3 separate regions of the Homo sapiens genome follow, and regions 1 and 3 are each linked to region 2. Evidence: promoter capture Hi-C in human tissues and cell types (Jung and others, 2019). All regions are on one chromosome and are shown on one strand. The core of a region is centred on a gene start or on the middle of the fragment in contact, and the rest is flanking DNA. Distances in the headings are between cores, read along the strand shown.

What was found. Contacts are between HindIII fragments. The study calls those that stand out against the background at their distance.
Region 1: a fragment that was not itself captured here is called in contact with the fragment with the promoter of RNF222 in region 2 in 1 of the 25 tissues and cell types used here (lymphoblastoid cells).
Region 3: a fragment that was not itself captured here is called in contact with the fragment with the promoter of RNF222 in region 2 in 1 of the 25 tissues and cell types used here (lymphoblastoid cells).

The regions. Positions count from the first base shown.
Region 1 is chr17:9,512,593-9,515,292 of GRCh38, forward strand. The region is part of intron 4 of STX8 (syntaxin 8); the gene reads right to left. Among named protein-coding and RNA genes, the nearest start is that of STX8, 62 kb to the right of the region's middle. The HindIII fragment of the contact is 3,350 bases long and covers 1-2,700 here.
Region 2 is chr17:8,396,566-8,399,265 of GRCh38, forward strand. RNF222 (ring finger protein 222) reads right to left here and starts at 1,262. Exons shown (of 3, transcript NM_001146684.3): 1 at 1,130-1,262. The HindIII fragment of the contact is 8,302 bases long and covers 1-2,700 here.
Region 3 is chr17:9,529,546-9,532,245 of GRCh38, forward strand. All of the region lies in intron 4 of STX8 (syntaxin 8), which reads right to left. Among named protein-coding and RNA genes, the nearest start is that of STX8, 45 kb to the right of the region's middle. The HindIII fragment of the contact is 7,559 bases long and covers 1-2,700 here.

The DNA of each region.
Region 1 (2,700 bases), core at 187-2,686, 1.1 Mb after region 2:
GTTGGGATTACAGGCACACGCCACCACACTCAGATAATTTTTGTAGAGACGGGGTTTCACCATGTTGCCCAGGCTGGCCTCAAACTCCAATCTGCCCACCTCAGCCTCCCAAAATGCTGGGATCACAGATGTGAACCCAGCCAAGCCTACTCATTTTTAACAGAGGTGCCAAGAATACTCACTGGGGGAAGACAGTCTCTTCAATAAATGGTGTTGGGAAACTGAATATGCACATGCATAAGAATGAACCTGGACACCCATCTATCACCCTAAGGAAAAAATCAACTCAAAATGATTCAAAGACCTAAATGTAAAACCCAAAACCATAAAAGTACCAGGCAAAAACAAGGAAAACACTTCAGGATGTTGATCTGGGAAAAGATTTTATGAGTCAGACCTCACAAGCACAGGCAACAAAAGCAAAAAGAAACGAATGAGATTACAACAAACTAAAAAGCTTCTGCACAGCAAAGGAAACAGTCAATAGAGTGAAAAGACAATCTATAGGAGAAAATATTTGCAAACTGTTTATCCAACAGAGGATTAATATGCAAAATATGTAAGGAACTCAAAATATCTCAATGGCAAAAATCATAATAATAATTGGATGGAAAAATGGGCAAATGAGCTAGGCATGGTGGCATGCACCTATAGTCCCAGCTACTCAGGCTGAGGTGGGAGGATTACTTAAGCCTGGATAACATAGTGAGACTCTATTTCCAAAAAAAAAAAAAAAAAAAAAGATACACAAAATATGTGAAAGACAGACAAATGATCTGACCAGACATTTCTCAAAAAATGACACACAAATGCGCCAACAAATATATACAAATTGCTCAGCATTACTAATCGTCAGGGAACTGCAAATCCAAATCACAATGAGGTATCATCTCATTCCACTTAGAATGGCTATCATCAAAAACACAAAATAAATGCTTGTGAGGATGTTGTGAAACAGGAACTCTTATACACAGATGGTGGAAATGTAAACTAGTACAGCCACTATGGAGAGCAGTATGGGGGTTCCCCAAAAAACTATAACTAGAGCTACCATATGATCCAGCAATCCCCCTACTGGGCACTTATCCAAAGGAAAGAAAATCAGTATTTTGAAGAGATATCCACACCCACATGTTTACTGCAGCACTATTCACAGTAGGCAAAATATGGAATCAACCTATCCAACAACAGATGAATGGATAAAGAAAGTGTGGTATACATACACAACGGAATACAATTTAGCCATAAAAAAGAATAAAATCCTGCCATTCACAGCAACATGGATGGAGCTGGAGGACGTTATTATATTAAGTAAAATAAGCCAGGAACAGAAAGCTAAACACTGCATGTTCTTACTCATACGCAGAAGCTAAAAACAAAAGTTGATCTCATAGAAGTAAAAAGTAGAACAGAGCACACCAGAAACTGGGGAGAGTAGGGAGAAGGGGGAGAGCAAGAGATTTGTTAAGGGACACACAATTATAGTTGGACAGGAGGAATAAGTTTGAGTGTTCTATTCACCACTGTAGGATGACTACAGTTAACAATAAAGTCTCCAGTAGCTAGAAGGACGATATAGAATGTTCCCAACACAAAGAAATGAAAAATGTTTGAGATTATGAATGTGCTAATTATCCTGACTGGCTCATTATATATTACATGTATGAAAACATCACTATGTACCCCATAAATATGTATAATTATTATATGTCAATTAAAACAAAATGATAGGCTGGGTGCGGTGGCTCACACCTGTAATCCCAGCACTTTGGGAGGCCAACGCAGGTGGATCACCTGAGGTCAGGAGTTCCAGACCAGCCCGGCCAACATGGTAAAACCCTGTCTCTACTAAAAACACAAAAATTAGCTAGGCATGGTGGCGGGCGCCTGTAATCCCAGCTACTTGGGAGGCTGAGGCAGGAAGAATTGCTTGAACTCAGGAGGCGGATGTTGCAGTGAGCCAAGATTGCGCCACTGCACTCCAACCTGGGCAACAAAGTGAGGCTCCATCTCAAAAACAAAACAAAAACAAACAAAAAACAAAATGATGACAATGATGTTACAATAGCAATAACAACAGTTAACATGCAGTAAGCATTTGCCCTGTACAGACACGGCTCCAGGTGATTTATATATATTCACTCATATCTCCATTATTTATAATTCTTCTAGCCTTGTTCACATCTCCCATATCATCCAGAAACAATTGCTACCCTATTATTTAACCTTTTATATAGATAAGGTGCATATCCACTAGACAGAAGGCAGAAACTGAAAATCACCCTTCGCTGTACACACGCTGTCCCACAATATGGAGTGAACAGCTAATAGCATATCACCTACTGGCAACATATGAACAGAAAGTAGCTGGAGGATTCAATAATTTTTCATTCCAAAAACATTTACTTCGTAGTTATTATATAGTCGGCATTGCTCTCATTAATGGGCATGAAGAAAAAATAGAATATAGACAAATGGACCAAAATCTCCACCCATACAAAGCATAGATTCTTGTTATCGGTGCTGTTTGCATTCTGGTGGGATGAAACAATGTGTAAAATGTGTGCAAACTGTCTAATGTCGTACTTGGAAGATGTTAACTACTATCATAATACCAATTATTGCATTTTTTTACACAGAAGGCACTAAAAAATTTTAAATAAATCTGTATATCACAAAAGCTATATTAATTTCACTTTT
Region 2 (2,700 bases), core at 12-2,511:
TGGCCTCTCCGGACAATCCTTCCCCCTTCCAATGATGGCCTCTCTGGACAGTCCTTCCCGCTTCCAACGATGGCCTCTCTGGGCAATCCTTCCCCCGTCCCGTGCTTCCGGAGAGCCACGCCGTCAACACCTGGACGATGCTACCTCCTTCCCCACCTTCTTGCCTCCCTTTCTCAGTCTTTCCCTGACCCCTCCCTCTGCCTCTCTCGCTTTCTGAATCCCATTCCATTCCCCATCCTTGAGTTCCTCTTATGGTATGATTCTGTTTGGATGCTGGGGTGAGGGAGAGGGCAACAGAAGAAATGCAAGGAACATACTCTAGTTTGAGCACAAACGAGTTGAAGAAGAATGCAGTAAGTGCCAAAGCATCCCTGTTGGTGCCTTAGGAAACTGAGGGGAGAGGAGGGCTGGAAAGTATTCCTAGGTGAAGTGGGACCAGTATTGAGCTAATAATAAATAATTATTATTATTTACAACAGCGACCATTTATTGAATCCTAATTATATGCTTGGCATTTTGCATCCCTTCCTCTTCTGATCCTGACAACAAGGCTGGGGCGTAGGGATTATCTTCATTTTACAGATAAGGGACCTGAGGCTCAGAGCTTAAGACTTTGTCTTCAGACTTTGGTCAAAGGAATAGAAGAAATAGCACTGTTAGAAAAGTGACTACCCAAAGTTCCTTCCTCTTTAGGTTTAGAGTGACCCTAAACAAGGATGCCCCTCTGGCCACCTGGGAGGCAGGGGGAAGGCAATGGCTGGCCCAAGGGAGCTGACCTTGGGAAGCCCCAGTACTGAGCCTCCCCCACAGCAGTAGCCCATCTCCGGAACAGAGTGTGGGGGCAGGTGTCCCCACCCCAGAGAAAACACCCCCCATCCCCACCTCAGCACAGGAGCCAGTGGGACAGAATGATACTTCCAGGCACCTGGGATTCCCTCCTGGAGCCCCAGTGCAAGGTCCTATAGCTTTAGCTGTGACTAGTTGCTCACCCACAGGTATCTCTTTCTCTCTCTCTCTCAATTTCTCTCTCTCTCATTCTCCTGCATCCTTCCAATGTTGGCAACCTTCCAACATTGCCAAGCTCCTTCCCCACGCCCATCCAGGCCCCTAGACTCACTTTAGCTGGGACCGGAGAGAGCAGCATCCACCTTCCCTCCTGGGGCCTCCAGCAGATCTGAGCCACCCCGAGGTGCTGAGCAGCAGCACGATCTCCTCCTGTTGCTGTTAGTGTGACCGCCACCGCCGAGGCAATTCCTAATGACAGAGCAGGTCGGGAGGACAGCGCGAGGAAGTGAATGTCGCCCAACCCGTTTGAGGCCAGGAGGCTTTGGCGTTGCCCAGGGGGTTGGCAGCTGCTGGAGTCAGGTGATCTTGCTGAGGATGCCAGGAGAGGAACCCCCAGCTTGAGGAGGAGCCCAGGGGTGGGTGCTCAGGAGAGTCAGAGGGTCTCACAGTGGAGGCAGTGACCCAGGACCCCTTTGACTGAGGCTCCCCAGGCATGGGTCTCCCTATCAATAGGAAAGTCACCCACACTGTCCTTCCCACCCTCCTGGACCCATTTCTGTGATCCCCATCTTCCCCCCACACCCCTATCCTCACACCATGCACAGGGTGAAGGGGTCAGTAGTAGATCAGCCTCGGGAAGTCTATGACACTCAGAGTCATATATTTGTGGGATCTGCCTGTGTGCATTTGTCATTCATGGAACACCCAAAGGCGCTTAGAACTCCAAAGACCCAGCACCACTGGCATAAAGAACGAGGCGAGTAAGACCAGTGAAGCAGGAATGCACACAGATATGGAAAGAAGTCCCCGGCATCATGATAAATGGAAGCAACTTTCAGAACAGCCTGTGTAATACAATTCTATTTATGAAGATAATAATACATGATCATATTCATAGAGGAAAAGCTGGAAGAAAACACATCAGACTGTTAATAGCAGTTATCTCTGGAGAGACTTTCTAAGTTTTATATTTCTGTGATGTTTGCATTTTCACCCTGAATGTATGTTTCTTTTGTGATTAGAGAAAAAGTCATCCACTGGGTATGGTGGCTCATGCCTGTAATCTCAGCACTTTGGGAGGTTGAGGCGGGCAGACTGCTTGAGGCCAGGAGTTCGAGACCAGCCTTGCCAACATGGTGAAACCCTGTTGCTACTAAAAATACAAAAATTAGCTGGGCAAGGTGGTGCAAGCCTGTAGTCTCAGCTACTCGGGAGGCTGAGGCACAAGAATTGCTTGAATCCAGAAGGTGGAGGTTGCAGTGAGTGAGCCAAGATTGCACCACTGCACTCCAGCCTGGATGACAGAGTGAGACTGTCTCAAAGAAAAAGAAAAAGTCATCAAGAATAATGGAGGAATGAAGTTCGGGGAACTGGAAATCATTTTGGAGGATTCCCTCCCAGTCCTCTCAGGAGGTCCCCAAGAAACCAGTTTTCTTCTGAAAAAGTAAGTTACTGGGTCCAAGGCACAGCCCAGCATGTGTGTGACCCCATAGGATGACACAGGATGACCCCTCTTCTGTCCGATCAGTCATGGCCCTGGCTTAATGGACACCTTGAAGCTGGTGGGGAGGACAGTCAGGCCAGTGCACTCGGCCACTTCACCATGGACAGAGATCCGTGAGTGCAAGCCGTCGTCACAGTCTCTCTTGTTCTTTCCCTGGGAGTTCCAGGTGGTCCTAGATTAGCAAATGAAAA
Region 3 (2,700 bases), core at 9-2,508, 1.1 Mb after region 2:
AGGAGCCCTGTCATATACCCTTCTAGTCACTACTTCCCCCAAAGGGAACCGCTTTCGTGATTTATAACACTGTAAGTCTCACCTTTATAGGAGTGGCATCATATAGCATGAACTGTGTAAACTCTTCTGTCTGACATGATGTCTGAGATCCATCCATAGTGTGGTGTACAGTTGTAGATTGTTAATTCTCATTTGCTGTGTGACATCATTGTATGAATATGCCATCATGTATTTATTCATTATACTATAGATGTTCATTGGATTATTTCCAGGTGAGACTACTAAGAAAAGCACTGTAAACAGAGACGCCTGTAGTCTCAACTACTCTGGAGACTGAGGTGGGAGAATCGCGTGAGCCCAGGACCTTGAGGTTACAGTGTACTATGATTCCATCAGTGAATAGCCACTCTACTCCAGCCTGGGCAACGTAGCAAGACCCTGTCTCTAAAAAACAAAACAAAACAAAAAATAGCACTGCTAGGCCGGGCGCAGTGGCTCACGCCTGTAATCCCAGCACTTTGGGAGGCTAAGGCGGGCGGTTCATGAGGTCAGGAGATCGAGACCATCCTGGCTAACACAGTGAAACCCCGTTTCTACTAAAAAAATACAAAAAAAATTAGCCAGGTGCAGTGACGGGCGCCTGTAGTCCCAGCAACTCGGGAGGCTGAGGCAGGAGAATGGTGGGAACCCGGGAGGTGGGGCTTGCAGTGAGCCGAGATCGCGCCACTGCACCCCAGCCTGGGAGACAGAGTGAGACTCCGTCTCAAAAAAAAAAAAAAAAAACAGCACTGCTATAAACATTCTTGTACGTGCCTTTTGTATAGTTCCATTTCAGCAAATACAGTTTTCCATTTCAGCAAATATGGTTTTCCAAAGAGATTGTACAATTTACAGTCCCAGCAGTAGTATATGAGAACTATAGCTGCTCCACATCCTAGCAACACTTGACATGTCTGTCATTTTAATTTTAGCCATTCTTGTAGTATAATGACATTGTGACTTGACTTTGCATTTACTTGATGACTAGTGAAGTTGAACACCTTTTCTTACATTCATCAACCATTGAATATCCTCTTGTGAAATTCAAGTCTTTTGCCTATGTTTTTCTAACAGGTTGCTTGCCTTTTTCTTGACTTATAGGGATTCTTCATATATCCAAGATACATTTCCTATGTCAAATATTAATATATGCCCTGCAAATACAGATTTTCATTCTGTGACTTGTCTTTCAATCATTGTGGTATCTTTTGATAAAAAGAATTTTTTGTTTTAATGAAATCCAACTTATCACTTGTTTCCTTTATGGTTAGTATGTTTTGTGGCCTGTTTAAGAAATCTTTGGCTATCCCAAGATCATAAAAATGTTCTCCTGTTTTCTTCTAAAAGCTCTCTGGTTCAACCCTTCACATTTAGATCTATAATCCTTTTGGAATTATTTCTTATGTAGGGTGATAGCAGAGGCCAAGATTCATTTTTTTCCATGTGGATATCCAGTTGACATAATGCCATTTATTGAAAAGATTACCTCTGTCATAAATCAGGTGACAATATATGTGTTAGACTGCTTCTGAACCCTCTCTTTTGTTCCACGGGTTTATCTGCCTATCCTTGTGCTAACACCACACTACAGCTTTGTGGTGAGTCTGGATAACTGGTCATGTGAGTCCTCTGGCCTTTTTGTTCTTAAAAATTGTCTCAGCTTTTCTTATCTCTTTGCATTAACCATATAAACAGTGGCTGTAATCAGCTTCTCAAGTGGCAAAACGGAAACAAAAATCTGGCTGGGGACTGTAAGTGGGTTTGCTCTAAATCTATAAATCAATCTTGAGGGAACTGATGACTTTACAATATTGAGTCTCCCAATCTCTGAACAAGGCACAGAGACTGAAGAGATCTGAGCATGGTAAGACCCCACCCCGACTTACTCAAAGTTTCACTTTCCAGAGTTTCAGTTACCCACACTCCGAAAATATTATAGACAATAAGATATTTTGAGAGAGAGAGAGAGAGACCACATTCTCATAACTTCCATTACAGTATTAAACTTTACCATGGGTATATATTCACAAGTAAAAATATAGCATATACAGGGCTCAGTACTACCCAAGCTTTCAGGAATCCACTGAGGGTCTTAGAATGTGTCCTCTGCCCTTAAGCAGGGGACTACTCTTTATTTATCTCTTCAGCTTTACTTAATTTCCCTAAATAATGTTTTATAGTTTTCAGTGTAGAAGTCTCATACATCTTTCATTTTACTTATTTCTACAGATTTCATGTTTTTTTTTTTAAAGTACTATGACAGCAGCCTTAAAATTTTTTCATTTGATTTTTCTTTGTTGTCTAGCTTTTAAAACCTTCTGAGGAGAGAAACTACCAGGTTGCTACTGCTAACCACGTGTGGACAGGCTGTGCTTCATTTTCTTTCACATGGTAATGGCTGGATACCTTTCTTGACTTGATCAATGACATGGAGTTGCAATGACCATTTGTTCAGATCTCAAGGTCTCTGGTTTTCTTTGCTCCATCAGTCATCCAAAGAGATAATCTTTCTTTACATTTAGTCTCTATTTGGAAGTCAGGCTGTTAATAGAGCTTCCTTTCCTATCCCATGGTGAGGGAAAAAAAAAAAAATCCGGACTAAGTAGCTACAGAGATCTCTTCTGGCGATAATCAGTCTTGTGAGAACATACATAACCTAAA